Linked DNA regions of Homo sapiens: all the other regions are linked to region 1. Evidence: promoter capture Hi-C in 16 types of primary human blood cells and fetal thymus (Javierre and others, 2016). All regions are on one chromosome and are shown on one strand. Each heading gives the region's core, a stretch centred on a gene start or on the middle of the fragment in contact. The rest is flanking DNA. Distances are from core to core; before and after follow the strand shown. Region 1 holds the start of LINC01548 (long intergenic non-protein coding RNA 1548). Region 2 overlaps TMEM50B (transmembrane protein 50B). Region 3 overlaps TMEM50B (transmembrane protein 50B). Region 4 overlaps IFNGR2 (interferon gamma receptor 2). Region 5 overlaps LOC105377136 (a long non-coding RNA gene).

Region 1 (2,700 bases), core at 179-2,678:
GTGGGAGGAGAAAGAAGCATCCCAGTGTGGTGTTATTGGCCTGGTTACCTCCATGGGCTGCTGGGACTGGATCCCCTGGAGACCCCCTGAGGAAGCGTGTGAAAGATGCCTCAGAATTGTCCACCCAAGACATGGATGGAAGACAGATGAGCTCATCAGCTCCTGCCCCTATTGGTCAAAGTTTTCCCCCAAGGAAAGCCACCTCCCTTGAGCTTCCAAGTTTACACACAAGCCAGTATAGCTAAGCAAGTCCCCGCAGGCTTGGACAGAAAGCCTGCCACAGCAGATACCCACTGCCACAGCTGTCAGGTGACAGCTTGTTGCGGTTGTCAGAGCAACGCCCAGGAGCAAAAAAGGCGAGCCAGGTCAGGCGCAGTGGCAAACTCCTGCAATCCCAGCAATTTGGGAAGCCAAGGCAGGAGGATTGTTTGAGGCCAGGAGTTCAAGACCAGCTTGGGCAAGAAAGAGACCCCTGTCTCTACAAAACATAAAAAATTAGCCAGGCATGGTGGTGCGTGCCTGTGGTCCCAGCTACTCAGGAGGCTGAGGCAGGAGGATAGCTTGAGCCCAGGAGGTCAAGGCTGCAGTGAGCCATGGTCGTGCCAGCACACCCTAGCCTGAGTGATAGAGCGAGACCCTGTCTCTAAAAACTTAAAGAAAAAAACGGTGAGCCAAGAGCATGTGAAAGGAGCGTGAAAGGAGCATGAAAGGGAGGTGGGCAGAAGAAGCTGGTTGGATAGAGGAAGTGAAAGGAAGAGGCGCATTTGTACAGACAGCCGCCCTTCTGGACCGAGTAACCACGTGGAGAGTGGTTCTCCATCCACCCACATAGGACGCACAAGGAAAAGAAGAGGTTCCCAAAGATAAGGGATTTCATGGGGAAAATACCTCATCGAATGGACTGCGACCCTCAAGGGAAGATGTTCCATAAGCTCGGCGCGAGTCAGGCAGTAGGGAGAGGTCTTGAGATCACAGGTGAAGTGAAGGCTCCCAGGAAGGGTGATTGCAGGGCGAGGGCCTCCTGACCTGGAGACAGGGCCCCAAGGAACAGTCATACGAAGAGGGCAGAGGACAAATGAAGAGGGAGTGGACAGAAAGAGAAATGGGAGGAGAGCCATGTGCCAGGAGCCAAGTGATTTAAATGCAGGTGTAGTGCCCTGGAGAGTTCCATGTGTAAGAACAAGTAAATCATTGTTGCTTACCTCTCCCTTGAAAAAAAAAAAATACCCTGCTTCTTGTCCTAAGTTCCCAGGCTCTCTTTTTGCCTACTCCCTCCCCAGTTGCTGAGTCCAGTCAACCCTCCTGCTACAGTATCCCCTATAGCGCCATTCACCTGCCCTCCTCTGCTCCCTTGGCCAACATCTAGGTTCAGAACCTCATTGTCTCTCTTCTGGTCTGTCCTGCCTCCTCCTCCCTCTGCTGCTGTCCATCCAGGTGGATTTTCCTAAAGGGAAAAGGTGCACTTGAGGGCAAATTTCTCTTGGCCATGCACTTAGGAGGGGGATTTCTGGGTAAAGGGGTAAGTTCACTGCTTTTCTAATTCTCTACTTTTTCCTTATCCTCACCCATAAATCTTACAACCCCCTTGAAGTGCAATAACTTTATTTCTAGGACCTCTCAGAGCCTTTGCCTGTGCTGTTCCCACTTGCCGGGAATGCCTTTCCCTTCATCCCCAATAGTTCAAGCCCCACCTTTTCCTGAGCCCAGCTCAGATGCCACCCCCTCATCCAGGAAGGCCTCCTTGATACCTCCCTACCAGAATTAATCTCTCCTTCTCTTGTGGTCTGAAGACTCTTGGCTTTCTCCCCTGTCCTATTTTTGCTTGTTATCACTGACATTGCTTTACACGCTTTTTCTCCTCTGCTGGGAGCAAGGGCAGTTTCTATGTCACAATGCCCCACTATGCCCATTAAGCTACAGTGCACATGGTACCCATCCCGAGACCAACATTCTTTTTACACTTCTGTGCTTCTGACCTAGGAAAGTCTTACTTTTCATAGAGTGTCATAGCTGAGTTGGAAGCTCTTTTCTTAGAGCCTCTTAAAATAATGGCGTGCCTTATAGTCAATGATCTCTTACATTCCATTAAATACAGTAGGAGATGTTCAACCAATATTTGCTAAATTGGAGGAGTTAAAGTCATTTTGAGTAGGAGAGGGAATCTAGACCCACTATTTGGATTAGTACAGATTTTAGTGCAACTCAGGGCTTCTGCAGAGCCCCTCCAGCTTTCACCTGTCCACTTAGTTGATGATGAGCACGCCTGCGAACTCTTCACACTTTCCAAACCCACCAAGGCAGCTTCTCCCGTAAGGACATGTTTCTTACCTTCAAGACCCCTGTTGCCTCCAGCAGCAATCTCAGTAATGACGTCTACTTCTGTTTCCTGCTTCCTTCTCCCTGACTCCTGCTTCCTGGAGTCCCCTCAGATAAACCTCCTGTGCCCAAGACCTTGTCAGGGTCTGCATTTACGGGAACCCAACTAAAATTCCAGGACCACCATATAAAGGTCCCTTTGTCGGGGGCTGGGCCTGCTCTGGATACGGTAGGGAAGTGGCTCCAGGGTCTGCGGCCAGCGAGGAGAGGGTCCGGCAGTCACCAGTGGGAGCTGTTTCCTCCCGTATTCCTCCCACCTGTCCCTACCTGTCCTGCTGGCGGGGTAAAGAGTGGGATTTACCTCGTGACAGCTGCCTTACAGCC
Region 2 (2,700 bases), core at 35-2,534, 300 kb after region 1:
GACTTCAAGCCCAGCCCAGGCAACATAGCAAGACCCTGTCTCTAAAAAATAAATTAAAATGTAAAAAGATTCAAATGAAAATTCTAGGGGCTGGGCGCAGTGGCTCATGCCTGTAATCCCAGCACTTTGGGAGGCCGAGGCAGGCGGATCACGAGGTCAGGAGATCGAGACCATCCTGACTAACATGGTGAAACCCCGTCTCTACTAAAAATACAAAAAATTAGCCAGGCATGGTGGCAGGCGCCTGTAGTCCCAGCTACTCAGGAGGCTGAGGCAGAATGGCGAGAACCCGGGAGGTAGAGCTTGCAGTGAGCCGAGATGGCACCACTGCACTCCAGCCTGGGCAACAGAGCGAGACTCCCCTAAAAAAAAAAAAAAAGAAAGAAAGAAAATTCTAGAACTGCAAATTACAATGTTTGAATTTAAAAATTAAATGGGCCGGGCAGGATGGCTCACACATGTAATCCCAGCACTTTGGGAGGCCAAGGCGGGGGGATCACGAGGTCAAGAGATCGAGACCATCCTGGCCAACATGGTGAAACCCCGTCTCCACTAAAAATACAAAAACTTAGCTGGGCATGGTAGCAGGCACCTGTAATCCTAGCTACTCAGGAGGCTAAGGCAGTAGAATTGCCTGAACCCAGGAGGCGGAGGTTGCAGTGAGCCGAGATTGCACCACTGCACTCCAGTCAGGCAACAGAGCAAGATTCCATCTAAAAAATAAATAAATAAATAATTAACTAAATGAACTTAATCGCAGATTAGATACAGTAGAAGAAAAGGACAGTAAACTTAAACATCAAAAGAAATTATCCAATTTAGAGACCTGAGGAACAATACTAAGTGGTCTAAAATATATGTAATTAAAGTTCCCAGAAGAAGAAAAGACAGAATAAGAAATAAAAAAATTTTGAAAAAAATAATAGATGGGCTGGGCACGGTGGCTCACACCTGCAATCCCAGCACTTTGGGAGGCTGAGGCGGGTGGATCACCTGAGGTCAGGAGTTCGAGACCAGCCTGGCCAACATGGTGAAACCCCGTCACTACTAAAAATACAAAACTGGGTGTGATGGCACATGCCTGTAATCCCAGCTACTTGGGAGGCTGAGGCAGGAGGATCACTTGAACCTGGGAGGCGGAGGTTGCAGTGAGCCAAGATCACACCATTCATTGCATTTCAGCCTGGGAAACAAGAACAAAACTCCATCTCAAAAAAAAAAAAGAATAAATGAAAATTTCTCAAATTTGGTGAAAAATATTAACTTATAAATCCAAAAAGCTCAGCAAACTCCAAGGAGGATAAATACAAAGAAAACATCATAATCAAACTGCTGAAAACCAGAGATACAGAGAAACTCTTGAAACAGTCTTATGGGGAAAAAAATCAATACAACATATACAGAGACAGAACAATAGGAATGATGGCTCACTTCTAACCAGAACAAAGGATACTAGAAGACACAGGAATGACACTGTTAATAACGCTTTAAGACAAAAAAAATCAGGCCAGGTGTGGTGGCTCATGCCTGTAATCCCAACACTTTGGAGACTGAGGTGGGCAGACTGCTTTGAGGCCAGGAGTTCAAGACCAGCCTGGGCAACATGGAGAAACCCCATCTCTAATAAAAATACAAAAATTATCTGGGCATGGTGGCCCTTACCTGTAGACCCAGCTACTCAGGAGGCTGAGGCACAGGAATCACTTGAACCCAGGAGCTGGAGGTTGCAGTGAGCTGAGATCGCACCACTGCACTCCAGCCTGGGCAAAAAAGTGAGACTCTGTCTCGGAAGAAAAAAAAAAAAAAAAAAAAACTCAATCCCAAATTCTATACCCAGCAAAAATATTCTCCAAAAATGAGGATAGCCAAGCATGGTGGTGTGCACTTGTAGTCTCAGCTACTCAGGAGGCTGAGATGCAAGGATCACTTGTGCCCAGAAGTTCGAGGTTACAGTGAGCTATGACAGGTGACACAGTGAGACCTTGTCTCAAAAAAAAAAAAAAACAAGAAGGTGACAGCAATTCTACTCCTATCTAACTACCCAAGAGAAATGAAAATATATCTTCACAATAACTTGTTCATAGCAGCATTATTCGTAATTGCCACGGAGTGGAAGCAACCAAACATACATCAACGAATGGATAAATAAAACATAGCACATCCATACAACGAAATACAAATTCAGCAACAAAAAGGAAAGAGGTTCCTACTGATAGATGCTACATGAACGAACCTCAACAACTGACTAAGTAAAAGACAGAAGACCATATATTGTGTGATTCCATTTACAAGAAACATCCAGAATAGGCAAATCTATAGACATAAAGCGGATTAGTGGCTGTCTAGGGATGGGGAGAAGAAAGATACAAAGTGACTGCAAAAGGCTACAAGATTCTAAAACTAGATTGTGGCAATGACTGCACAGCTCCGTAAATACTAAAAATCATTCGACTGTACACTTAAAACAGGTGAATGTTACAGTATATATACTGTATCTCAACAAAGCTGTGTTTTTTGGGGGGCAGGGGAGGGGGTTGTTGTTGTTTTTTTTAAGAGAGACAGGGTTTCACCCAGTTGTCCAAGCTGGTCTTAAACTCCTGAACTCAAGCGATCTGCCTGCCTCAGCCTCCCAAAATGCTGAGATTACAGGTGTGCACCACCATTCCCAGCCAGTTTTCTTTTTTTTAATAAGAGTAAAAT
Region 3 (2,700 bases), core at 160-2,659, 290 kb after region 1:
GCTGAGATTGCACCACTGCACATCAGCCTGGGCAACAGAGCGAGAATCCAGCTCAAAAAAAAAAAAAAAAAAGACATTCATTCTAAAAAGCATAGAATGGACTTCATTTTGGGGATATTTTAGAAGACTGCCCCTAAAAAATACTTTTAATATTGGTTTATTTTTCCACTTACTTTAACTTTTCTTAAAAGGGCATTCAGAAAACAGAATTTCCCAACAGGTTTTGTATATAATATGCATACTATGTATTAATTATTATTATTATTTTGATATGGAGTCTTGCTCTGTCACCCAAGCTGAAATGCAGTGGCACTATCTCGACTCACTCCAACCCCCGTGTCTCCTGGGTTCAAGTGGTTCTCCTGCCTCAGCCTTCCGAGTAGCTGGGATTACAGGCACACACCACCATGCCCGACTAATGTTTGTATTTTTATTAGAGATGGGGTTTCACCATGTTGGCCAGGCTGGTCTCGAACCCCTGACCTCAGATGATCCACCCACTTCAGCCTCCCAAAGTGCTGGGATTACAGACATGAGCCACCACACCTGGCTGGCCACTAGGTATTAATTCTGGTTTTTCCTTTTTTCTTCATAAAGGTACTTTACCTGTTGTTGTTAATTTTTTTTTTCCCGAAAGGCTAGTCAAGTGAAACAATGGGTCTGATAGGGTTTTTTAATAAGACACAGGCTATGGAAGCAGCAGTCTGGATTCAAATCCAGGCTTCTCATTTACTAGCTAGGCATCCTAAAGCAAGCCCTAAACTTTATTTCCTCATCTATAAAATGGGAATAACACTGGGTGTGGTGGCTATAATCCCAGCACTTTGGGAGGCCGAGGCAGGCAAATTGTCTGAGCTCAGGAGTTCGAGACCACTCTGGGCAATATGGTGAAACCTCGTCTCTACTAAAATACAAAAAATTAGCTGGGTGTGGTGGTGTGCACCTGTAGTCCCACCTACTCGGGAGGCTGAGGCATGGGAATCGCCTGAGTCCCGAGGCGGAGGCTGCAGTGAGCCGAGATTGTTCCACTGCACTAAGGCAGCTTGGGCTACAGGGTGAGACTCCCTCGCAAAAAATAAATAAATAAATAAAAATAAAAATAAATAAAATGGGAATAACACCTGACATATATTTAAAATAATTAAATGCATTATTTTATTTTATTTTGGTCTCACTCTATTGCCCAGGCTGGAGTACAGTGGTGCAGCCTTGCCTCACTGCAGCCTCAACCTCCTCGGCTCAAGCAATCCTCCCACCTCAGCCTCTTGAGTAGCTGGCACTGTACACCACCACAACCAGATAATTTTTATATTTTTTTATAGAGACAGGGTTTTGCCATGTTGCCCAGGCTGGTCTTAAACTCCTAGACTTAAGCAATCCACCCACTTCAGCCTCCCAAAGTGCTGGGATTACAGGCATGAGCCACAGCACTTGGCCTAAATGTGAATTCAAAGGGTAAAATATATAAAGGATCCAGCTAAAGTCTTGATACACAGCAAGACCTCTAGTTAAAAGGCCTCTCTGCTCTTATGTAACAGTGGAATTCTCACCTTTTAAAAGAAGTTCTATCATTGTAACCAATCCATGGGATTTATATGTGTTCCATATATATGCTGCCTTAATTAAGTTGACATTTCTGTAAATGTTACAGGCGTGGTTAAAAAATAAGGCAACTTACCTAAAAAATATAAGTGCATTTTGAAAAAACACAGCTAGTCCCGGATAAACATCAGTATCTACATACACAAAGTAAAACAGATTAGACGGTTATATAGGCAAACGGCAGTAATAAAGTATCAGTGCCATTCATAATGATACATTTTGTATATTACAACATACTGCTATTATTCATTAACTGTAAGACATCTATAATGAAACTGAAAGAAGAAAATGCCAATTTAATTCCCCCAAAGCAAAGGACTGCTCTTACTCTGGATAAAAGTCAATGAACTTACAAAGTTTTCTTTTAGTCAAAGTAATTGCTGGTTCTAGCTACATCAAAACTGCTGAGGAAGCAGTAACTTGCTCCTTTGCCTCCTATGGCCAACACTGAAATGCAAAATCGTAAAAACATACAAAATAAATTCTTGACTTTTAAACAGTCTGTTAATTTATTTTCTTTCATGAATTCAAGAGGTTTTTTGTGTTTGTTTTTAAAGAAATGGGGCCTCACTATATTGCCCAGACTGGAGTGCAGCAGCTACTGACAGGCACAATCATAGCAAACTACAGCCCAAACTCCTGGGCTCAAGTGATCCTCCTGCCTCAGCGTCCCAAGTGGATGGGACTACAGGCACACACCACAATGCCTGGCTCTCAATCCAGGAGTTTTATCATGCAAATATGTCAGATATAAATAACACAGTTAGAATTTATCATTCTCTTTCACTGAATCTATCCTGGAGGAAATGGTTACTATCTTTATAGGAAAAGAAAAGAAACAAAATGGAAACTACTTAAATTTTTGTGGATTATTAACTTTTGTAAAACTACAAATGTTGATTTAAAAAATACTGGAGAAGATGAAGAAACTGGTTCAATTCTGAGCTCTTGATATCATAGCAAACAATACAGCAGCATGGTTAAGAGCTCCAAGTTTGAGCCAGACCCAGGTTTGAATCCTATCTATACCAATGACTAACTGTATGACCTTGGGCAAATTATTTAACCTCAGCATATCTTCATTTCCTCACCTGTAAA
Region 4 (2,700 bases), core at 47-2,546, 260 kb after region 1:
GCCGTGAGGGCCCCCAAGTCCCTTTCCTCCATTTGACCAGAGCATCTGTACTTGGCTTCCATGATCAAAAGGTTCAAGGATGAAAATGACTCTGAAAGCCACCAATGTGATCTTTGTTCCAGCTGTGAGTCTGTGTGTTAGGGTCCCCAAGACCCACCCTAGATCGCTCAAAGGACTCCCAGGACTCAGCACAGAGTCACACTCTGATTTCGTTTTGAGACAGAATTTCACTCTGTCTCCCAGGGTAGAGTGCAGTGCCACAATCTCGGCTCACGGGTTCAAGAGATTTTCCTGTCTCAGCCTCCACATCTGTGCCTGGCCCATACTCTGATTTTTTATAGCAAAAGGATGCAAAGCAAAATCGGCAAAGGGAAGAGGCACATGGAGGAAAGTCCGCAGGTGTCCAGGGGTAGGCTTCCAGGAGCCCTTCCTGAGCTGAGTCACGCAGGATACACTTCATTGCTCCACCAGCAAGCTGTGACTGCACATGTGAACTGTTGTCTGCCAGGGAGGCTTATGAGAGACCCAGCGCCCAGGGCTTTTTCTGGGGGCTGGCCACATACGCACCCTCTGTGTAGCGTATGCCAAAATTCCGACTCCCAGAAGGAAAACAGATGTTCCTCATAAAGAAAACACATTGTGCAAACAGTGTAGGGACGGTAAGCCACCTTACCAGTTTGGGAATGGGAGGGATAAACTTGAAATCCAAATTCCCAGGCTGGGCGCGGTGGCTTACGCCTGTAATCCCAGCACTTTGGGAGGCCGAGGCAGGCAGATCACTTGAGGTCAGGGGTTCGAGACAGGCCTGGCTAGCATGGTGAAAACCCATCTCTACTAAAAATACAAAAATTAGCCAGGCGTGGTGGTGGGCACCTGTGATCCCAGTTACTCAGGAGGCTGAGGCAGGAGAATTGCTTGAACCTGGGAGGCAGAGGTTGCAGTGAGTCGAGATCACACTACTGCACTCCAGCCTGGGCAACGGAGCAAGACTCCGTCTCAAAAAACAAACAAACAAAAAACGCACACAAATTCCCAGATGTCAGCTAAGGGTTGACCTGGAAATCAGGCCCTTCAAAGGGCATTAGTGTTAGGCCTGTTACGTTAGCTCTTCTGCAGTCTGTGACTCTAAATTTTAGGAATTCCAATTGAATGCTGAAATAAACCCAAAGGGAATTTTTGTCCTTAAAATCGTGTCTTCCTCTGCCCTGGCAGTCCAACACCATTAAACAGAAGAAAAGAAAATGTAAAACCATCAAGTAATACTATTATTCATAGATCATACAATTACTTTTATATTTTTATTTTTTAATTTTAATTTTTCAGAGACAATTTCACTCTGTCACCCAGGCTGGAGTGCAGTGGTGCAGTCATAGCTCACTGTAGCCTCCAATTCACAGGCTCAAGCCATCCTCCCACTTTGGCCTTCCGAGTAGCTGGGACTTATAGGCATGCACCACCATGACCAGCTTATTTTTTTATTATTATTTTCTGTAGAGACGGAGGGAGGGGGTCTCACTATGTTACCCAAGCTCAAACTCCTGGACTCAAGTGATCCTCCCACCTCAGCCTCCCAAAGTGCTGGAATTACAGGCATGAGCCACCATGCCTGGCCTATTTTTGTATTTTAAAAAATAACAACATGTTCTGTATTTGAATAATCTGCCTTTTTTCAGTTAACAATTTAGCAGCCTTGTCTTCCCATGTTTTCAAGCATATGTTATACCACCATTTCATGTGGCTGTAGTGGATTATATTGTATCTCAAAATTAGAAAACAGTTCTTTGCAAGAAACCCTATACTGCCATAATAGGGTATCGCTGTTTTCCACTTTGGTATGGGACAATGACAGCCTTGCCAGGACAACAGGAGCCATTGCCTGGAAGACCAGGTGGGGAGGCAGCAAGGCCTGCTCAAGGCAGCAGAGGGATGCGCAGAGGAGACACAGAACCTTCCTAGAGTCTAGGGTCCAGTTGTCTCCTGATGACATAAATCCTTAAGGTCATTTTAGCTGAAACTATAGGAGGCTCAAGCACATTTCGGTCAAACTAGAAGCAGGTTGGGAATGAAAGGAACATTATTTCCCAGAATAATTTTTTCTCTGTTGACTAACTTGAGGTATCTAGATTAACCGTGAGATACAAAATGTTGGCCAGGCGCGGTGGCTCACGCCTATAATCCCAGCACTTTGGGAGGCCGAGGCAGGTGGATCACCTGAGATCAGGAGCTCGAGACCAGCCTGGGCAACATGGTGAAACCCTGTTTCTACTAAAAATACAAAAATGAGCCAGACATGATGGTGGGTGTCTATAATCCCAACTACTCAGGAGTTGGAGGCAGGAGAATTGCTTGAACCTGGGAGGCGGAGGTTGCAGTGAGCCGAGGTCGCACCATTGCGGTCCAGCCTGGTGACAGAGCGAAACTCCATCTCAAAAAAAAAAAGAAATACAAAATGTTTGTTTTGAGATGGAGTCTTGCTCTTCATCCAGGCTGGCGCAATCTCAGCTCACTGCACCCTCTGCCTCCTGGTCCAAGTGATTCTCCTCCCTCAGCCTCCCATGTAGCTGGGATTACAGGTGTGTGCCACCACATCCAGCTAATTTTTGTACTTTTAGTAGAGACTGGGTTTTGCAATGTTGGCCAGGCTGGTCTCTTAACTCCTGACCTCAGGTGATCCACCCACCCTGGCCTCCCAAAGTGGTG
Region 5 (2,700 bases), core at 25-2,524, 260 kb before region 1:
CACATGGGGCAGAGGTAGACAGCTCTCTGACCTCCCAGCATCTTGTCTCCCACCTAGAACTATACCCGAGCCATCCTCAGGCCACTCCACTTTTTATTAAACCAGAAGTTTCTGGGTGATGTGGCCCTTTGGGTTAATCTGGGCATGAGTTCATTGCCACACTTCCTTTGCCCTAAAATATGTCACCTGATCAGAGGTGATAATATAGGATACTATGGCAATGATGGAGGAATTCTGCAAGTGCGGGAATAGTGGTACTGATCAAAGCATTATGAATAGGCATGTTAGTCCATTTTGTGTTGCTATAAAGGAATACTTGAGGCTGGGTAATTTATTTTTAAAAAGAGGTTTATTTGGCTTATGGTTTTGCAGACTGTACAAGAGGCATGGCACCAGCATCTGCTTCTGGTGAGGCCTCAGGAAGCTTTTACTCATGGTAGAAGGTGGAAAGTGAGCCAGTGTGTCACAGGCTGGGAAAGGGTGGGGGGGTGAGAGAGAGAGAGAGAGAGGGAGAGAGAGAATGATGCTAGGCTCTTTTAAACAATCAGATCTCACGTGAACTAAAAGAGCAAGAGTGCACTCCTTACCTCAGGGAGGGCACCAAACCATTCATGAGGATCTGCCTCGTGACCAAAACACGTCCCACTAGGCCCCACCTTCAACATTGAGATCACATTTTAACATGAGATTTGGAGGGGACAAACATCCAAACTATATCAATAGGGAAGGCAAATCTGTATCAGAGATATATCTATCTCTGTGAAGAATAAGTTCTACCACCTTCATGATGGAAGGGCCCTGTGGGGGTTACTTTCATGTGTCAGCTTGGCTGGGACATGGTGGCCAATTGTTTGGTCAAGCACCGGACTAGATGTTCCGGTGAGAAGATATTTTAGATACGACTGGTATTTAAATCCATGGACTTTATTAAAGCAGATTGTTCTCCGTGATGCATGTTGGCTTCATCCAGTCCACTGAAGGCCTTAAGAGCAAAGACTGAGGTTTCCTGAGGAAGAAGGAGTTTCCAGCCTGCTGCCCTATGGAATTCATACTCAATACTGCAGCATCAACTCTTACATAGGTTCAGATTTTGGACTTGCCAGTTTCCACAGTTTCGTGAGCCAATTCCTTAAAATAAATCTCTTTCTCTCTCTTCTATTGGTTAAGTTTCTCTGGAGAACTCCCATTAATACAGGGTTCAATATAATCAACTTGCTGGTATCCCTGGGAAATAGTAACAGCTTAGAGGCTCAGATACAGTCTCTGCTGTTGACAAATTGGAAACTCATCAATAGCTGTAGCTAAATCAGCCCTGGCGAGGAAAAGTCCATAGTGATGAACCCATGTATAAACCTCCACCCCTGCCATATGGCCACTTTGTATCTGAGCCCATTGAGTGAGCCACATGGTTAGTCAACCTCTACAGGACAGGTCAACTTAACCACCTCAATTATTCTGCTCAAGCTGCTGTAGCGAGATACCACTGACTGGTTAGCTTAAACCATAGACATTTAGTTTCTCAAAGTTCTGGAGGCTGGAAGTCCAAGATCAAGGTGTCAGCAAGGTTAATTTCTGGTGAGGACTCTATTCGTTACTTGCAGATGGCTACCTTCTTTGCTGTGTCCTCACTTATCCTCTTTTCTGTGTGTGCAGAGAAAGAGCTCTCTGGTGTCTTTTCCTTTTCTTATCAGGACACCAGTCCTACCAGATTAGGGCCACACTCTTATGACCTCATTTAACCTTAATTACCACCTTAAAGGCCCCATCTCTGAATATAGTCACATTGAAGAGTTAGGGCTTCAACATGTGAATTTGGGGGGCGGGGTTAGACACAATTCAGTCCATAACACCACCTGATTTTTGAGAACCTCCTCCACAGTGAATGCCCTGTAGTGAAGAAGGCATGAATATCCATGCCCATTCTAAGAGATCCATCCACATACTCCCAGACCTCTTTATCATCAATTTTCAAGTCTTGTTCCAAGTCACTGACTGGCTAACCAATCCGTCAGTCACTCACCATGGATTGGACTGGATCTACACCTCTGGCCACCTTTCCTGATTGCTTCCTGGATCTGCATAGATATCAGCACCTCATCCTCAGCCTTCCTCACCGCCTGATTTTCAAGCTTTCTGGCCTAGGCTATGACCTCAGCTCAGATGTTGAATTTAAGTGTAAGCTTGCAGAGCAAAAGAAACTAATGAGGATTCCCTGAGTAACAATGAGTGAATAGGCAGGAGCCCAGTGGTGGGCTTGCAGATGGCTACCTTCTTTGCTGCGTCCTCACTTAGCCCCCATTCCCCAAAGCATGTGCCATAGGACCATCAGAAGCCAGCTGGCTCCCAAATGTTTAGAATCACTATAGGATCAAAGTCTCTTTACACTTTGCCCTCAACTTGAACTTTATCTCATGCCAGCACTGTTCATAATTTGAGTAATAACACATCACAGTGTGCCACGGATTACCTGTGTGCCATTTCCCCTTGGCAAGATAGGTATTACGGGGCAATGCAAATAGATGAGCAACTAGTGGCTTGCTGGTAAGTGTTGAACAACTGATTCTTAAAAAGAAAGGAGGAAGGTGAGGAAGGTTAGAAAGGAAAGGAGGGAGAAAGGTAGGGAGGGGAGAAACAAAGAAAGAAACAAAAAAGAGAAAAGAAAGAAGCCCTCATTGGTAGCATTTGCAAATTTCTATGGTA

What was found. The method cuts DNA at HindIII sites, captures the fragments that hold promoters and counts their contacts. A CHiCAGO score of 5 or more calls a contact.
Region 2: a fragment that was not itself captured here is called in contact with the fragment with the promoter of LINC01548 in region 1 in 1 of 17 cell types (neutrophils); the score reaches 5.4 in neutrophils.
Region 3: a fragment that was not itself captured here is called in contact with the fragment with the promoter of LINC01548 in region 1 in 5 of 17 cell types (neutrophils, monocytes, M0 macrophages and 2 more); the score reaches 6.8 in neutrophils.
Region 4: a contact is called between a fragment that was not itself captured here and the fragment with the promoter of LINC01548 in region 1, in 1 of 17 cell types (neutrophils). The highest score is 6.5, in neutrophils.
Region 5: a contact is called between a fragment that was not itself captured here and the fragment with the promoter of LINC01548 in region 1, in 4 of 17 cell types (M0 macrophages, M1 macrophages, M2 macrophages and 1 more). The highest score is 10.1, in M0 macrophages.

What each region holds. Positions count from the first base shown.
Region 1 is chr21:33,168,808-33,171,507 of GRCh38, forward strand. It overlaps LINC01548 (long intergenic non-protein coding RNA 1548), which reads right to left and starts at 1,429. Exons shown (of 4, transcript NR_024102.1): 1 at 1,334-1,429; 2 at 889-1,026. RefSeq lists an enhancer at 641-710. The HindIII fragment of the contact is 7,514 bases long and covers 1-2,700 here.
Region 2 is chr21:33,471,666-33,474,365 of GRCh38, forward strand. The region is part of intron 1 of TMEM50B (transmembrane protein 50B); the gene reads right to left. Among named protein-coding and RNA genes, the nearest start is that of TMEM50B, 7.0 kb to the right of the region's middle. The HindIII fragment of the contact is 7,894 bases long and covers 1-2,700 here.
Region 3 is chr21:33,454,049-33,456,748 of GRCh38, forward strand. It overlaps TMEM50B (transmembrane protein 50B), which reads right to left. Exons shown (of 7, transcript NM_006134.7): 6 at 1,679-1,736. Among named protein-coding and RNA genes, the nearest start is that of TMEM50B, 25 kb to the right of the region's middle. The HindIII fragment of the contact is 4,983 bases long and covers 1-2,700 here.
Region 4 is chr21:33,429,141-33,431,840 of GRCh38, forward strand. The region is part of intron 4 of IFNGR2 (interferon gamma receptor 2); the gene reads left to right. Among named protein-coding and RNA genes, the nearest start is that of IFNGR2, 27 kb to the left of the region's middle. The HindIII fragment of the contact is 9,279 bases long and covers 1-2,700 here.
Region 5 is chr21:32,905,143-32,907,842 of GRCh38, forward strand. All of the region lies in intron 4 of LOC105377136 (a long non-coding RNA gene), which reads left to right. Among named protein-coding and RNA genes, the nearest start is that of LINC01690, 52 kb to the right of the region's middle. The HindIII fragment of the contact is 1,705 bases long and covers 423-2,127 here.